Regions from separate parts of the Homo sapiens genome. Here regions 1, 2, 4 and 5 are each linked to region 3. The links are contacts of gene promoters, found by promoter capture Hi-C in blood cells and fetal thymus (Javierre and others, 2016). All regions are on one chromosome and are shown on one strand. The core of a region is centred on a gene start or on the middle of the fragment in contact, and the rest is flanking DNA. Distances in the headings are between cores, read along the strand shown. Region 1 overlaps LOC105378977 (a long non-coding RNA gene). Region 2 has its middle 58 kb from the start of ANKRD55. Region 3 holds the start of SETD9 (SET domain containing 9). Region 4 has its middle 41 kb from the start of ANKRD55. Region 5 has its middle 19 kb from the start of ANKRD55.

What was found. The method cuts DNA at HindIII sites, captures the fragments that hold promoters and counts their contacts. A CHiCAGO score of 5 or more calls a contact.
Region 1: a fragment that was not itself captured here is called in contact with the fragment with the promoter of SETD9 in region 3 in 1 of 17 cell types (fetal thymus); the score reaches 5.0 in fetal thymus.
Region 2: a contact is called between a fragment that was not itself captured here and the fragment with the promoter of SETD9 in region 3, in 5 of 17 cell types (neutrophils, non-activated CD4 T cells, naive B cells and 2 more). The highest score is 10.1, in neutrophils.
Region 4: a contact is called between a fragment that was not itself captured here and the fragment with the promoter of SETD9 in region 3, in 14 of 17 cell types (neutrophils, naive CD8 T cells, non-activated CD4 T cells and 11 more). The highest score is 15.1, in neutrophils.
Region 5: a fragment that was not itself captured here is called in contact with the fragment with the promoter of SETD9 in region 3 in 5 of 17 cell types (total B cells, naive B cells, erythroblasts and 2 more); the score reaches 9.7 in total B cells.

The regions. Positions count from the first base shown.
Region 1 is chr5:56,329,538-56,332,334 of GRCh38, reverse strand. All of the region lies in intron 2 of LOC105378977 (a long non-coding RNA gene), which reads right to left. Among named protein-coding and RNA genes, the nearest start is that of ANKRD55, 98 kb to the right of the region's middle. The HindIII fragment of the contact is 1,837 bases long and covers 604-2,440 here.
Region 2 is chr5:56,289,894-56,292,712 of GRCh38, reverse strand. No RefSeq gene overlaps it. Among named protein-coding and RNA genes, the nearest start is that of ANKRD55, 58 kb to the right of the region's middle. The HindIII fragment of the contact is 806 bases long and covers 1,163-1,968 here.
Region 3 is chr5:56,907,853-56,910,845 of GRCh38, reverse strand. It overlaps SETD9 (SET domain containing 9), which reads right to left and starts at 1,250. Exons shown (of 6, transcript NM_153706.4): 1 at 1,103-1,250. The coding sequence starts at 1,200. RefSeq lists enhancers at 1-589, 685-734, 1,525-1,614 and silencers at 775-984, 1,165-1,374. The HindIII fragment of the contact is 6,770 bases long and covers 1-2,993 here.
Region 4 is chr5:56,273,328-56,276,055 of GRCh38, reverse strand. It overlaps the pseudogene PSMC1P4. Among named protein-coding and RNA genes, the nearest start is that of ANKRD55, 41 kb to the right of the region's middle. The HindIII fragment of the contact is 5,403 bases long and covers 1-2,728 here.
Region 5 is chr5:56,250,829-56,253,639 of GRCh38, reverse strand. No RefSeq gene overlaps it. Among named protein-coding and RNA genes, the nearest start is that of ANKRD55, 19 kb to the right of the region's middle. The HindIII fragment of the contact is 289 bases long and covers 1,113-1,401 here.

The DNA.
Region 1 (2,797 bases), core at 273-2,772, 580 kb after region 3:
TCTGTGCTCACATTGCCTTCTCTTCTGTATGTGTGGTATTGAACTTCCCTCTGCCTCTCTTTCTCACATGTGATTGTATTTAGAGCCCACCCAGATAATTCAGACTAAGCTCCTCCTCTTAAGATATTTAACTTAATAACATCTTTCACCATACAAGGTGATATTCACAGATTTTAGGCATTAGACATGAACATATCTTTGAGGCCATCATTCAGTTCACTACAGGGACATACACAAGGATATTTATTTTTTAAATTCTATTAACAGCAAAAAACTAGAAACAGCACAAATGCCCCACCCACAAGATAATGCATAATGTATAATGTAATAAGAATATTATATAGCAGTATAGAGTCAATTTCATCTTCATCTATATCAGCACACATAGTTATCAAACACTTGTCATAAAGCAAGTTGCAGAATGACATATACAATATTATATCATTTATTTAATTTTTAAACAGGAATACATATATTTATTAGAAGTACGCAACATGAGCTAAATAGATATATACAAATATATGACAGTGTTGGAAACTGGGGAGCACCCATGGCATAGAAGATGGGAAGTAGAGCAAAGATGGTTCCATTAAAAGAGAAGCTTCTTTTATAATAATACACAAAAGACAAATTCCAAAATGTGAACAGTCCTTAATCTTGGGTTATAGGCACTGAAGTGTTTGTAATTCTATGCACATTTTAAATGATTTTTTAAATATTTTATAATTTTGTTTTTTATATTTAAAGATAGAAAATATTTTATGGTTATTCAGAAAACAGTATGAAGGATAAATTAGAATAGGCAGGAAATAGAGGGAAGGAAACCATTTAGAGACTACTACAAATAAGAAATAGAAAAGATGTATGAAGATTGGACCTAAGAAAGTGACCATGAAAACAGTGAGAAAAGGGTGATTATGAACAAAATTTACAAGGTAGACTCTTTAGGGCCTGTCTACTGAGTCAATGGGCACCAGGAGCGAGAGCGAGAAGGAAGATTCAAGGTGATGCCAAATTACTGACCTAAGAAACAGGTTGAATGGTGGCAGTGCAGTCACAGACAACTACTAATCTGCTTTCTGTCACAGTGAAATAGTTTCCATTTTCTAGCATTGTATATAAATGAAAGGCAGTAGGCACTATTTTTTTTTTTTGGTCTGGCTTCTTTCTCTCAGCACATTTATTTTAATATCCATCCCTGTTGTGTGTATAGCAACAGCTCATTCCTTTTTATTGCTGATTAGAATGGCAAGTTTCATTGACTGTCAGTCACCCTGGAGTGTCATTCCTGGCTGAGCCTCTCCCTGGCATGTGGACACTCAAGATTCATTCCCCCATCATCTGCCCACCTCCCTCCCACATCTGAATCTGCAGCTGTTTGCCTTCCCCAAATCCTCTTGTCACTGTTTGACGAGCAGTTACTGTTAGAGTGATTTCCTGGTGGGTTGCAAAATGTTACAATGTAACCAAGTATTAAATGAGCAAAATACTCTCCAAGGAATTGGAGGAGGTTGTCTTCAAAGTTGAATCTCAAAAATTCTGATTTTTCTACATTTCTGCTTAGTTCATCCTTCTAAAAAGACACCGTCATTTCTAATATGGACTCACTAAAGACATAAAGATGGCCAGTACAAGTAAGCTAAGACTACTGAATGAACACTCCAATTACCTTGTTTGAGGTTGGTCCCAAATTTATCTTTTGGTTGGCCTGCACGGATAATAAATAAATAAGCAAACAACAATAGAATAAATACCAGTGGCCTAAGTTCCACATCATTAGCATTTTGTGTTCCCAGAGCTACCATGTGGATCAGATTCAACTGGTATCCTGAGGGCTCCAGTGCTGCCTTAGAAAAATGATTAGTCTGGTGTACCAACCTCTGGGAAGTCTGCTATAGCCAGATTCCAGGAAATAGGCACTTTGACAGAGTCTTCAGCATGAATGCCCAAGGGAAGGAGAAGCTCTGAAAGAAAATTGTTTTAAATAGCTGCCTAATGATTGAGCGTCATGAAATGCTTTCACTTGGCAGGGCAAAATTGCACTACCTAGAAATGTCTGGGTGGCATTTAGAGTTGACAGACAGTAATGAGCGCTGGTTAAAAAAAAAAAAAAAGAGGTATTTTAGTGCTCTAGCAATTGCTAGACCTTCAGAAACACATCTCCCTTCTATATTTACACCTGCATTTTAAAAAGAAAAAAGAACAAAGAGAAGGAAAGAGAAAAAGGAAGGAAAGAAAAAAGGGAGAAAAGTATATCTATCATTTTATCCATTTCTAAAGACTCTTACATCAATTTAAAAGCTAACCATAATTGATCTTTTACTATGAACAATGTTTTGTGCTAAGTGCTTTACAAATATTAGCTAATTTCATCTTCACAACAACTGTTTAAGGCATACAACATTATTTCTCCCTTCTTACACATAAAGAAACTGAAGCTTGCCTGAGGTCATCATCTAATTGACAAGTCACGGTTCAAACCTAGGTGAGTCTAGCTTTAGAATTTGGGTTTCAATCACCGTATGGCATTGCTTCTCTTTCCTAACCTGGACTTAGTGATTGTGCAAACAGTGATGTCAACCATCTCAGCTTGCCTGGGTAGGGATGAAGAGAATTTCCTTCGCTCTTGCTTCTGAAGTTTAAATAATTTGAGTCTATAAAACAAACTAACAATAGGCAGATTCACAGGGAAAAAAAAGTGTACAAATTTTATTAATGTGCATATGGACACAGAAGCCACACACAAAGTATGAGACTCAATGGAAAGCCAGATGGCTGAAGGTTATATACCATACAG
Region 2 (2,819 bases), core at 316-2,815, 620 kb after region 3:
AGAAACAGTCAGACAAATCCAACTGAGGATTATTTTGCCCAGTAACTGGCCCAGATGCTTTAAAAATGTTGATTTCATAAAAGATAAAAACAGCTAGGGAGTATTGTAGATTAAAGAAATCTAAAGAGACTTGATAAATACAATATTTGATTCTACATTTGTGCCTAGATTTTTTTTAAAAAGCTATAAAGGACATTTTTGAAAAGCTATGAAAGACAACTGGGAACATTTGAATATAAAATGAATAATAATATCCTTAGTTAAACATAATCCTTAAATTTTCTCAGTGCCATATTTACAATTATTTATAATATGACTTTGTATTTGAATGCCCTTGTTCATAGGGGAAATGCACACGAATGGTTAAGCATAAAATACCACAATGTCTGCAACAAACTTGAAAGCTCTCAAATGGTTCAGCAAAATAATGTTGATGATGACAATAATAAGCTCACCCCCAACACACACGTAGAGAGAGGAACTATAAGAAAATGTGTAAAATGTGAAGGCAAGTGGGAGTTCATTGCATTTGCCTAACAGCTTTTCCAAAAATGTTTGACATGTTTCCAGATAAAATAGGGTAAGAGAGAAAAGGGAATTATTATAGACTAAAAATACTTAACAAACATATCAAACAAATGTAATATGTGGGCCATATGTGAATCCTAATTACAATAAACCAACTATTAAAAACCAATATTTTTGAGGCAATCTGAGAAAACTGAACATGCATTAGGTATTAGATAAATATTAGGAATTAACAAGTTGTTAATTCTGTTGAGTGTGATAATGGTACATTGTGGTTATGGAAAGAAGGCTTTATCTGTTAAAGATGCATACCGAAGTATTGGCAAGTAAAACAATATGTCATCTGGGATTTGCACATGATTCAGAAAAGAAATGTTTTAAAATGAGAGAAATGAAACAGGAATGACAGAATGTTCACTGTTGAAGCTGGGTAACAGATATATTGGAGTTATTTACACTATTAGCATCTCAACTTTGTGTCTGAAAATTCTTCATAATAAAAAATTGTTTTAAAAAACTAAAACTCATGCACTCTGCTAGAGAATAAAAGAATTCTTTCTGAAGGTTAGGGATAAATCATTTATATAGATTTGTAAATTGCAGCCTTTATATCTTACCCTTAGGAGCTTAAGCTTTGGCATGCATGCATGTACACATACGCATGCACAAACATACACTTTTCAAAAAAGTACTCTGAGCCACTGTTGGCCAAGTCCCAGTCCCAGAGGTGATGCTGTGATGAGTAGTTACTTCCCATTTGCCAGCTTATTTAGCAGGTCAATAACCTTCCAACTTCAATATCTTAAAATTCATTTTATGTTAGAATTGCTCTCTCCCTCACCCCATTTCTTCCATCTCACCCAGCATCAATAACAAAGTATGTAAATATCACTGCCCAAAGGGCCACATCAAAGATATTTTTTGCTCCTCATTAGCTAAGGAAGAATTGCAGCATGGGGAGTGAGTTATGGACAAGCTCTCAGTGAGTCTGTGGTTGGGCTAGGACTAGGACCTTGGACCTTAGACCTCTGCTCTAACCATTAGTCAACATGTCCTCTCTTGAACATCCAGAATAAAGGCAGCTCTAGTCTCTATAGTAACCAATCTTCTTAAAATAGGAATTATGTGGAGAACAAAACATTTAAAACCAATTGGATCCATTCATGCCTAAACAATGTCAATTTAAGGGCTGTTACCCAAGTTGTTGGCTTTTTGAATGGTCTCCCACCATGTGCTCAACTAAAGGAAGTGGGGTGGCTGTATCAAATGTTCCATTCCATACAGAATCTTGCATGCTTTTATCCCCTTTCCCTTCTTCAAACATTTCTTTATGTCCCCGAGTCATAGCCCTTAAAATAAACTTTTGGTAAAGGCAGTTTTATGGCCACAAGACTCAGACAAAAGTGGACATCTGAGAAACCCTTACAGGCAAAGAAAGCTTCCCAAGATGAAATGGGACTGAGTCCAAATCCCACACAGAAACCTTGCAACTTCATGCATTATTTTCAGTTTATAAGGTAGACCTTTGAACAACTCTCCTACCCAGTTAGCTTCCCCGTGGGTTTCTGGGGAGGAAGTAGAATATCTCTTGAAACCAAAGCTAACAAGGCTCACAACTGGAAACTGAAATTATCCAGTCTCTGGTGGTGAGTACCTGCCTCGTAGGGCTTTGTAAGGCTCTGATGGGGATGCGCTTAAAATATATTGACACAAGTTCACAATAACTAATATTATTTCATTGTCACTATTTTTATTACTCTATATGTTAGCCATAACTCTTGGGTTCCACAAAAGAAAATATTCATCCACTCTGCCTCTATCATTTTTATCCCTTATTTTTGGAAATGCTTTTGATTTTCAAAATATTGCTAGGGCTGGGCGCTGTGGCTCATGCCCATAATCCTAATGCTTTGGGAGGATGATAAGAATCTCTTGAGGCCAGGAGTTTGAGACCAACTGGGAAACACAGCAAGACCCTGTTTCTACAAAAAAGAAGAAAAAATAGCTGTGCATGGTGGTGTATCCCTGCAGTCCCAGCTACTTGGGAGACTGAGGCAGGAGATCACTTGAGACCAGGAGTTTGAGGCTGCAGTGAGTTATGACTGCACCACTGTACTCCAGTCTGGGTGACAGAGTGAAACCCCATCTCTTAAAAAAAGAAAATGCTGGATATAGGGTGCACTATCACTTGGATCTTTCATGTAGCCTGACATTTTTTTTTTAATTTTTCCAAATGTAAAAAAGACAAGTAGTGACATTTATTTATCTTTTGATCTATCTCTTTTTTTCCA
Region 3 (2,993 bases), core at 1-2,500:
AGCCAGAGGCAGAAACGAAGTTCAGCTCTTTCCCGTACTACACCCAACAGCCAAGCTGAATGTCATCACAATGAGAATGAATGACCTCACATTCAATGGCTTTTTAAAAATGGCCTTGTAGTTTCAAAGACAAATTCAACATCGTATACTTTGTGACACTCCCTCCAGGACGACTAACGTCTTCAATGACTGCACCTCTTATTTCCATAATCATTATCTTTTTGTACTAACTGCATTATTTTTACTTGAACAAAAAGGTTGTAATTCCCGCCTCACGGTTCCGAGTCATGATACAACTGATCTCCTGTTTCCCTAGCATGCAACCTTCCGGAAACCGCTTTGTTTCCCTATTTGTCGGACACTGACTTCAGGGAGGCCCGGTCGGCCTCTTTGGTGAGCACGGTGTTGAGCTGATCACTGGTGCGCCCTTAATAACGCCGGCGGGACTCACCCCAATCCGAAACCCACCATCCCGACGTGCTTTTGAGTGGCGTTCTGCCCGTTCTTAACGCGCGAGCTACTGCACGCTATTCTCACAGCCGGGATGGGCTTCTTTAACCACGTGAAGTACTTGTATGAACTATGAAAATAAACCCTGGCTTGGCTTTTCTGAGGAAGTTCAAGCACCTAATTAACCCCTGGTGGAGAAAAAGCCACGCACTCTCACGCGGTAAGGGCAGTCTTTTTAAAAAGTTTCCATTTTTGCCCAGATACAAGCTCCCCAGTCAGTGCCGAACGCAACAGGGAAGAACAGGCGACACATCCGGCTGGCGAGCTCGGCCTCGCGGGCCCGGCAGCGCAGCGGACACTGGGAAAGAGGCCATAGGCCCCGCCCACCTGAAGCCACCGCCCACTTCAGGCTTCCAGCGGGCCTCGGACTCCACCAACCTCGGCCCCGCCCGCCTCTGGCCCGCGTTCCTTAAACCCCTCCGAGGCCTCAGTCCCCGCCCACCCGGCCCGCCCACCTCAGTCCCTGCCCACCCGGGCCCGCCCATCTCAGGCCGGCAGTCAGCCTCAGGCTCTCCGCTTTGCGTCCCGCCGCCGTGGTGGCGTCTGGGAACCGAAGGCAGGTGCCCCTCGTTCTGCCGTCCCGCCCTCTCACCTCGGGTTGTGGCTTAGGTTCAGTGCGATCCAGGGAACGAAGCGGTACTTGTAACGGCGCCATCGCTGCCACAGGCCCCGCAGCAGACGGCCAGGCATGGCTGCCCCGCGGGGCCGTGACCAGGACGGCGCGGGGAAGGCGGATCGAGGCCTCGGGCCCGCCCCGGCCCGGGAGGAGAGGGGGCCGCGCTCGGCCGCCTTCCCCTGGCTCCGCTCTCAGTGTTCCTGGCACCGCCTGACTTCTGTTGCTCTGGGGCTTCGTCCTTCCCCTTTCCTGACCTCACCTCTCTGAATGAGAGGCGCGTAGAGCTGGAAGGAGGTCCCCTTGACCACTTTTTCTTTCTCCGGTCGCTCGGGTGCTTCCGTGGGCGCACACAAGCGCTAGCCCTGGTTGCGGGCGAAGGGTCACCGGGCCTCAGGGGCGAACCCGCCCCCGAGACCGCGTCCCAGGAGCGGACCGCCTAGTTTCTCTGTCACGGCTGTCTGGCCTGCCCCTTTGTCCCGGCCGCGCTCTGTGTTCCATCCTCCGTCCACTTGAGCTCTGCCTCTTCCTCGACGTTCTCTCCCCTTCTCTCCGTGGCCCCAGAGCAGCCCGACTTCGGGAACCCGAGTTTCAGTCCTCCCCAGACAGCAGCCCTTCTTCTGCGTGAACCCGTGTTCCCAAAGTTACCAGTTTGGGCGTTTTGCGAATATTTACACGTAAAAAAACAAAGTGTCATGATTCCCTGTTTTCACTCGTTTTTCTCTTCATTGACCCAACCATTCAAAGGCAAAACTACATGGACAAATGTTTCTGAAAAACAGCTTTGTTGAGGAATGGTTGGGATACAATAAACTGCACATATTTAAAGTGAACAATTTGATAGGTTTTCGACACCACAGCCAAGATAGTAATCCAGCCCCTCCCCCAGTCCCCAAGCAACCACTGAGGTGCTTTTGTCCTTTTAATATGGTCTTCGCTTCAATTTGGAAACGTTTTGTCTAGAAGTTCTGCATCTGTGTTCGTGAGAGATATTGTTTCGTAGTTTTCTTGTAGTGTCTTAATCTGGCTTTGGTATTTAGGCTAATGTTGACTTCATAGGATGAGGTGGGAAGTAGTCCCCCATAGGTGAAATTTAAAAGGAACTTTACGACCGCTCCTCCCCAACACCCAGATGCATGCACACGCACACACATATTTAGAACAGGTTTGGACAAAGTTCAGTTTTAAGGGGGGCAAACTACAGGAATCCCTTAACCATATTCAAATCACCAAGTGTTTATTGACAGATAAATACGTTGGTATCATTTCCTCTATTCTTTGCCTGAGAGTGAGGTTGGATCCTAAACTATTGAAATTGAACGGCTCAGATCTAATAAAAACTCAGCCAAGGCCGGGCGCAGTGGCTCACGCCTGTAATCCCAGCACTTTGGGAGGCCGAGGCGGGTGGATCCCCTGAGGTCAGGAGTTCGGGACCAATCTGGCCAACATGGCGAAACCCCGTCTTTACTAAAAAAGAACAAATACAAAAATTAGCCGAGCGTTGGTGGCACGTGCCTGTAGTCCCAGCTACTCAGGAGGCTGAGGCAGAAGAATCGCTTGAACCTGAGAGACGGAGGTTGCAGGGAGCCGAGATCCGCCACTGCACTCCAGCCTGGGTGACAGAGTGAGATCCCGTCTCAAAAAAAAAAAAAATTCAGCCAATCGCCAGTAGCTGCGGGACTAATTTGTTCTATTCTGAAAGAAATAAAGAGAAAGAGTATCTACCAATGTCTCTATTTCGTTCATATCATATAGAATGTTAGCAAACTCTAGAGGCTTTCTCTCAGACTCTGTGTTTGTTTGATAATTTGGCATAATCTAGATTTACCTGACTTGCTAAATGGAGTCAATTCAGTTCCAGGATGTATTA
Region 4 (2,728 bases), core at 130-2,629, 630 kb after region 3:
AACCAAATTCAGGAAATTAAGGAATCTATGGAGCTTCCTCTCCCCCATCCTGAATATTATGAAGAGATGGGTACAAAGCCTCCTAAAGGGGTCATTCTCTGTGGTCCACCTGGCACAGGTAAAAACCTTGTTAGCCAAAGCAGTAGCAAACCAAACCTCAGCCACTTTCTTGAGAGTGGTTGGCTCTGAACTTATTCAGAAGTACCTAGGTGATGGGCCCAAACTCGTACGGCAAGTATTTCAAGTTGCTGAAGAACATGCACCATCCATCATGTTTACTGATGAAATTGAAGCCATTGGGACAAAAAGATATGACTCCAATTCTGGTGGTGAGAGAGAAATTCAGCAAACAATGTTGGAATTGGAACTGTTGAACCAATTGGGTGGATTTGATTCTAGGGAAGATGTGAAAGTTATCATGGCCACAAAACAAGTAGAAACTTTGGATCCAGTACTTATCAGACCAGGCCGCATTGACAAGAAGATCGAGTTCCACCTGCCTGATGAAAAGACTAAGAAGCACATCTTTCAGATTCACACAAGCAGGATGACACTGGCCAATGATGTAACCCTGGACGACTTGATCATGGCTAAAGATGACTTCTCTGGTGCTGACATCAAGGCAATCTGTACAGAAGCTGGTCTGATGGCCTTAAGAGAACATAGAATGAAAGCAACAAATGAAGACTTCAAAAAATCTATAGAAAGTGTTCTTTATAAGAAACACGAAGGCATCCCTGAGGGGCTTTATCTCTAGTGAACCACCGCTGCCATCAGGAAGATGGTTGGGAGATTTCCCAACCCCTGAAAGGGATGAGGTTGGGGGAGTTGCCCAGAGGAATCCCTGTTCCCATTGATTTTTATTAGCAAAGCATCCTGTGTGTATTTTGGAGTACGATGTGTGAGTGCCCAATGGGTGGCCTTCATCTGTCGGTCACTGTGCAGCACTCTGCTTCCAAATAAAGCATGCTCTTTCACAAAAAAAAAAAAAAAAAAAAAAAAAAAAAAAAAAAAGATGGTTGATGCTGAACAAGAGGTGGTCTCAGGTGGGTAACATGAAAGTGCTGGTTAATGTCCCGAGTTAATGGGTTCAGAGATTTCAAAGGAAGATGAAAATTTGACTTGAGAAGGATTTTTTACCTTTCCAAGGTTTCATCTGACAGAGCAAGCCACTTGGACACAAAATGAGTTTATAAGAGCAGCAAACAGAACCAAACCTGAAAGCATCGCCAGTCTCTGTGTTGGGTCCATTTGAGCACCTTGATGCCAACTCTTTAAGCCTGGGTGGGAGGCAAGACTACCTAGAGTTTCTTTACTTTTTAAGTATGTGCAATCTGATGACCTCTTCTCTCTCATCAGGTTCAGCTTTGTCTGACCAGTACCTAAGGCAAATGTTGGCCTCACAAACTTTTCCAAACACCAAGCATTTAATAAGAGTATCAACTCTGGCTCATGCAAAAGTGAATGACTAGTAGAAATAATGGGGACAGAAACAGAGGTGTTCTTGTCATCCGATCATCCCTTTTCCTGGAAAATTTGAATATTTTCCATAAAATTATTATACAGTTATTCACTTTAAAGCTGTTCTCAAATGTCCATAGAGGCTCAGTCATGAACGGATATTCATTGAGGCTTCACACTGTCTGGGCATGTCAGGAACCATCCATGTAATAAATAGACATGAGCACACATCTATGAAAACTTAGCTGGTTACTCAAGACAGTGTGTCCAAGCATAACCTGGAAATTCGTCCCATGAGGACTCAGAAGCAGGAAAGAAAATGTCACTGTTAACTGATGTGCACAGAAAAGGCTTCATTGATGGAAGAAGAATAGAACTCAGGCAGAGAAGAGGAAAGAAGGGCCTCTGGGTGGGAAGGCACCCAGAGCAAAGGCACCCAGGTGGGAATGCGTATGCATACTAGGATGCAGAATTCTCTCCATTATACCTAAGGGTCAAGGAGGTGGGAGCAATGTAAGAACCGAAAAATGTTTTCAGATGTAGAATTAGCATATATAAAGGAATAAGATTTTTTTCTGATTTATAAAAATATTCCTGAAGTTATTCTAAAATTAAGCAACATTTAGTTTAAGATCTAACGAATCACTCTTTTAGAGAAGAAAATAATTATATGAGAAAAGAATCCTCTCCCCTCATTGTATGAGCTGTTAATTCTCCATTGTTCTCTGCGTGTTGGTTATTTATCTATTGTCTCTTGGATCCAAGCCCACCTTTCTATACTCTGCTCTTGGATATGGTAAGCCATCTGGTTCATTTCCCCTTAGATGCTGCCGGCAGAAGCCTTAGAGTGTGACTGGAGGTTGGGAGGAAGGAAAGGGACCCTCCTTCCTGGTCTTTGCACTTTCTGGGAGTGTCTCTCCAGCAGCAGTATTGCTCCAGCAGCATAGTTGGCTCCAGCTTTCAGTAGCCCCAGAACCAGCCTCCCATTCCCCCTGGCAGGCACTAGCAACAGCCAGGCGATGCCCATCTCCAGGGGGTTGAGCTCAGTCAATGGGTCCGCCTCTGAGCCACTTGGTTCTGCTAACTCTACCTCTTGACTGTTGTTTCCCCAGGCCTAGAGTATGTAACTGATTTGTCAAATTAATTTTATTTTTTTAAAGATAAGTTCATGTAACATAAAATTCACTGTTTGAAAGTGTACAATTCAGTGATTATTAGTAAATTCATAATGTTGTGCAACCATTACCATGATCTAATTCTACTATGT
Region 5 (2,811 bases), core at 8-2,507, 660 kb after region 3:
TGATGACTTATTTTTCCTTCTCTATAAACTATTCACTTGTACCTATTTTTCTGTTATGTTGATGTTTTTCTTATTGAAACATATTATATTTAAATATGAAAGATATTAATTCTTTGGCATATTTGTGGCAAATAGTTTCCCAAGTGTATAGCTTACTATTTATTTTATCTCACTGTTGGTGTATTTTTTTAATTAGCCATATATATTGAGAATTGGATTTTGAAAAACGAGAAGTATACTATATAGTCAGCTATTCCTGTCAGAGAAAAAGAGATTCTACATGTTTATCTTTGTTCCAGCCAAAAACAATTTTGGCAAAGGTTTGGGGAATTGAGAGTGCATCAGATCTGAGCTGGGCTGCTCATTTATGAAGCATTTTGGAATAACAAATAATGACACTCAGCATCGGGCCAGGCACTTAATGAGTGTTCAATACCTACTTCTTAATCAATGGCTGATGGATGAGTTGTTCTAATACACCATTCTAACTCAGCTGTTGGGTTTTTTACTAAGAGAAAAATAAGAATTCTGATTTGGATTCCTATTTGTGCATGGTAGCCATGAAATTTCATACACAGGAGCCCATTGCATGCAGACAGAACTACACGAACATTTCTTCAAGCATTTAAACAGGCTGATATCCTGGTGTAGACTTTATCACTGACAAAAAGGAATTCAGAGATCACCATAACAACCTTTATTCCCATCAAATATTATTAATAGCCTGATGTTGAAAATCACTTCTGACATATCTTAGTTTATCGAGCAAATAGCCAAAACCTTTCCTAGTATGTTATTTTTATCTTGAATTATAACAGAGAAAATATTATAACAAAAGAACAATTATGTGTGTAGGTATGCCCATAGAATTTTAGTTTGTTTGTTTAACTGGATGAAGGAAAGCATAAACCTGTTTGATTAGAGATGTAGAGATTAATTCAGATTTAGCTCTTCAAACTTGTCTTTTGTCTCCCTAAGCCTAGTCATGCCAAAAATTTCCTGCTGCAAATTGAGATCTCATTTTTTTCTCCATTTTTCAATTTGGATTTTAATAGAATTTCTTTCCCTGAGGGAGAAAGAGGGAAATGTCAGAATATAAACTCCTGGAAGCTTAAATCCTACACATAGCTGAAATATTTCATCTAAACTTGCCTAAAGGCTGCCATATTGCTACACGTATAACTCATACATCAGATCTCTCACAGGCAAATAGGACATATTAGGCCAAAGAAAGATTCAGTCACCATTTCACCAAGAAACATACAGGCTGGGTCTATAACATACCAAAAAATGGTCACTTTTAGGGGCCCAAAGTGACTAAAACCAATTGTTTAGCATAATGTAGACCAAATAATACATACCATGGTTTTGCAAAAATTTTAATTTTCTGCTTCATAAGCTTAATGTAAATCTGCTTGCTCTATTTCCAGCGGGAAGGAAATAGATTTTTTTTTAATTCTGTCTTACAAAAAGATTGTGAAATCAAATAGAAAATGTGCTGGGTGTCACTCAACATTTCAAAACTGTTATCTGAAAGAACCACATGTGAAAACATCCTTTGGGAGAGCGTGTAAAGGAAACCTCCCATCTCTTGATGTCATTAAATTGTTGACACTGCATTCATGCAATGGGAGTGTCGCCTTAACCAGCCAAATGATAATTCAAACCTCCTTAATTTTCTTCTTACAAATAAAAGAAAATTACTTTCTCTGATGATGATTGGGTTAATTAGCAGCTCTCTAGGTCTCTGTGTAAACTGAAGATGATTAAGATAACTTCTTGCTCTAATATAGTTTATGACTCTCTGAATATTGGGACTTTTTCTCAAGACACATAACAAGAGGAATTCAGAGGTTAAAATTATCTTGAAATAAAAAAGAAACTGGAGGCAGAACTAGATAGAGAAAAGCTAGATAGATGATACCAGAGAAATACCAAGCTGGCTTAAAGCAGGAGAGGATTTTGCTTGAGCCCCACTTCTCTGTCTAAAGGGTCAGATCTGGGTCCAGCAGCCAACATCATCAACCCTGCATCTCCCTGTCTCAATCTCCCTTCAGAGAGAAACCCCTTTCCAAGCCCCTGGGCTTACTAACTCCTGCCTGTGGACACCTAGGTTATAGGCCCAGATGCCTAACCTCCATTTAGGCTCTCTCAGTGTTTGACCCAACCTGGATAGCAGATGCATTAGCATAAAACTAAGTAGGCAAGAGTCCTGGGTGGTTTGCTGGGCAAATAATTATTTCAGTTAAACGAGTGTTGATTGAGCATCTAACATGTGCAAAGAAGAATGAGAACTTGAGCCCACTTCTTGTGACACCAAGTTCACGATTCTTCCCACCATTCTATACCACCTGGGCTAAAGTGCCAAGGCCCCATTCCCACCGCCAAAATAACAGTGAATGCTTAGATATTGGGAACCCTGAGATTTGCAGGAAATATTATTTAAGTCTGTATGTTTTTCACAGCAGGTGCTGTCAATCAATTCCTCCAACCATTAAAAACTTCAGTGTGGCCCTAGGTGACCTGGATCCTAACTTCCATCAGAACAGTTGTCCATCAGAGCATCTGCACAGTAGTACTTGCCCTCAGCAGCTAGGGAGCTAAAGCCAGATTACATTGGATCAAGCAGAGATTGGGTGGTCTGGAAAGGAAATAGCAAATGTAGCCTTTTTATTCCCAAAATCATGTCAAGAAACAAAGAATAAATCTGTTTGAAGAAACATCACATCATCACAGTTTTGTTTCATTTTTATTTTTTTAAGGCCTGAAGAAGGATATATGTGTAGGCTAAGGAAAAGTTTCTTGAGGAGG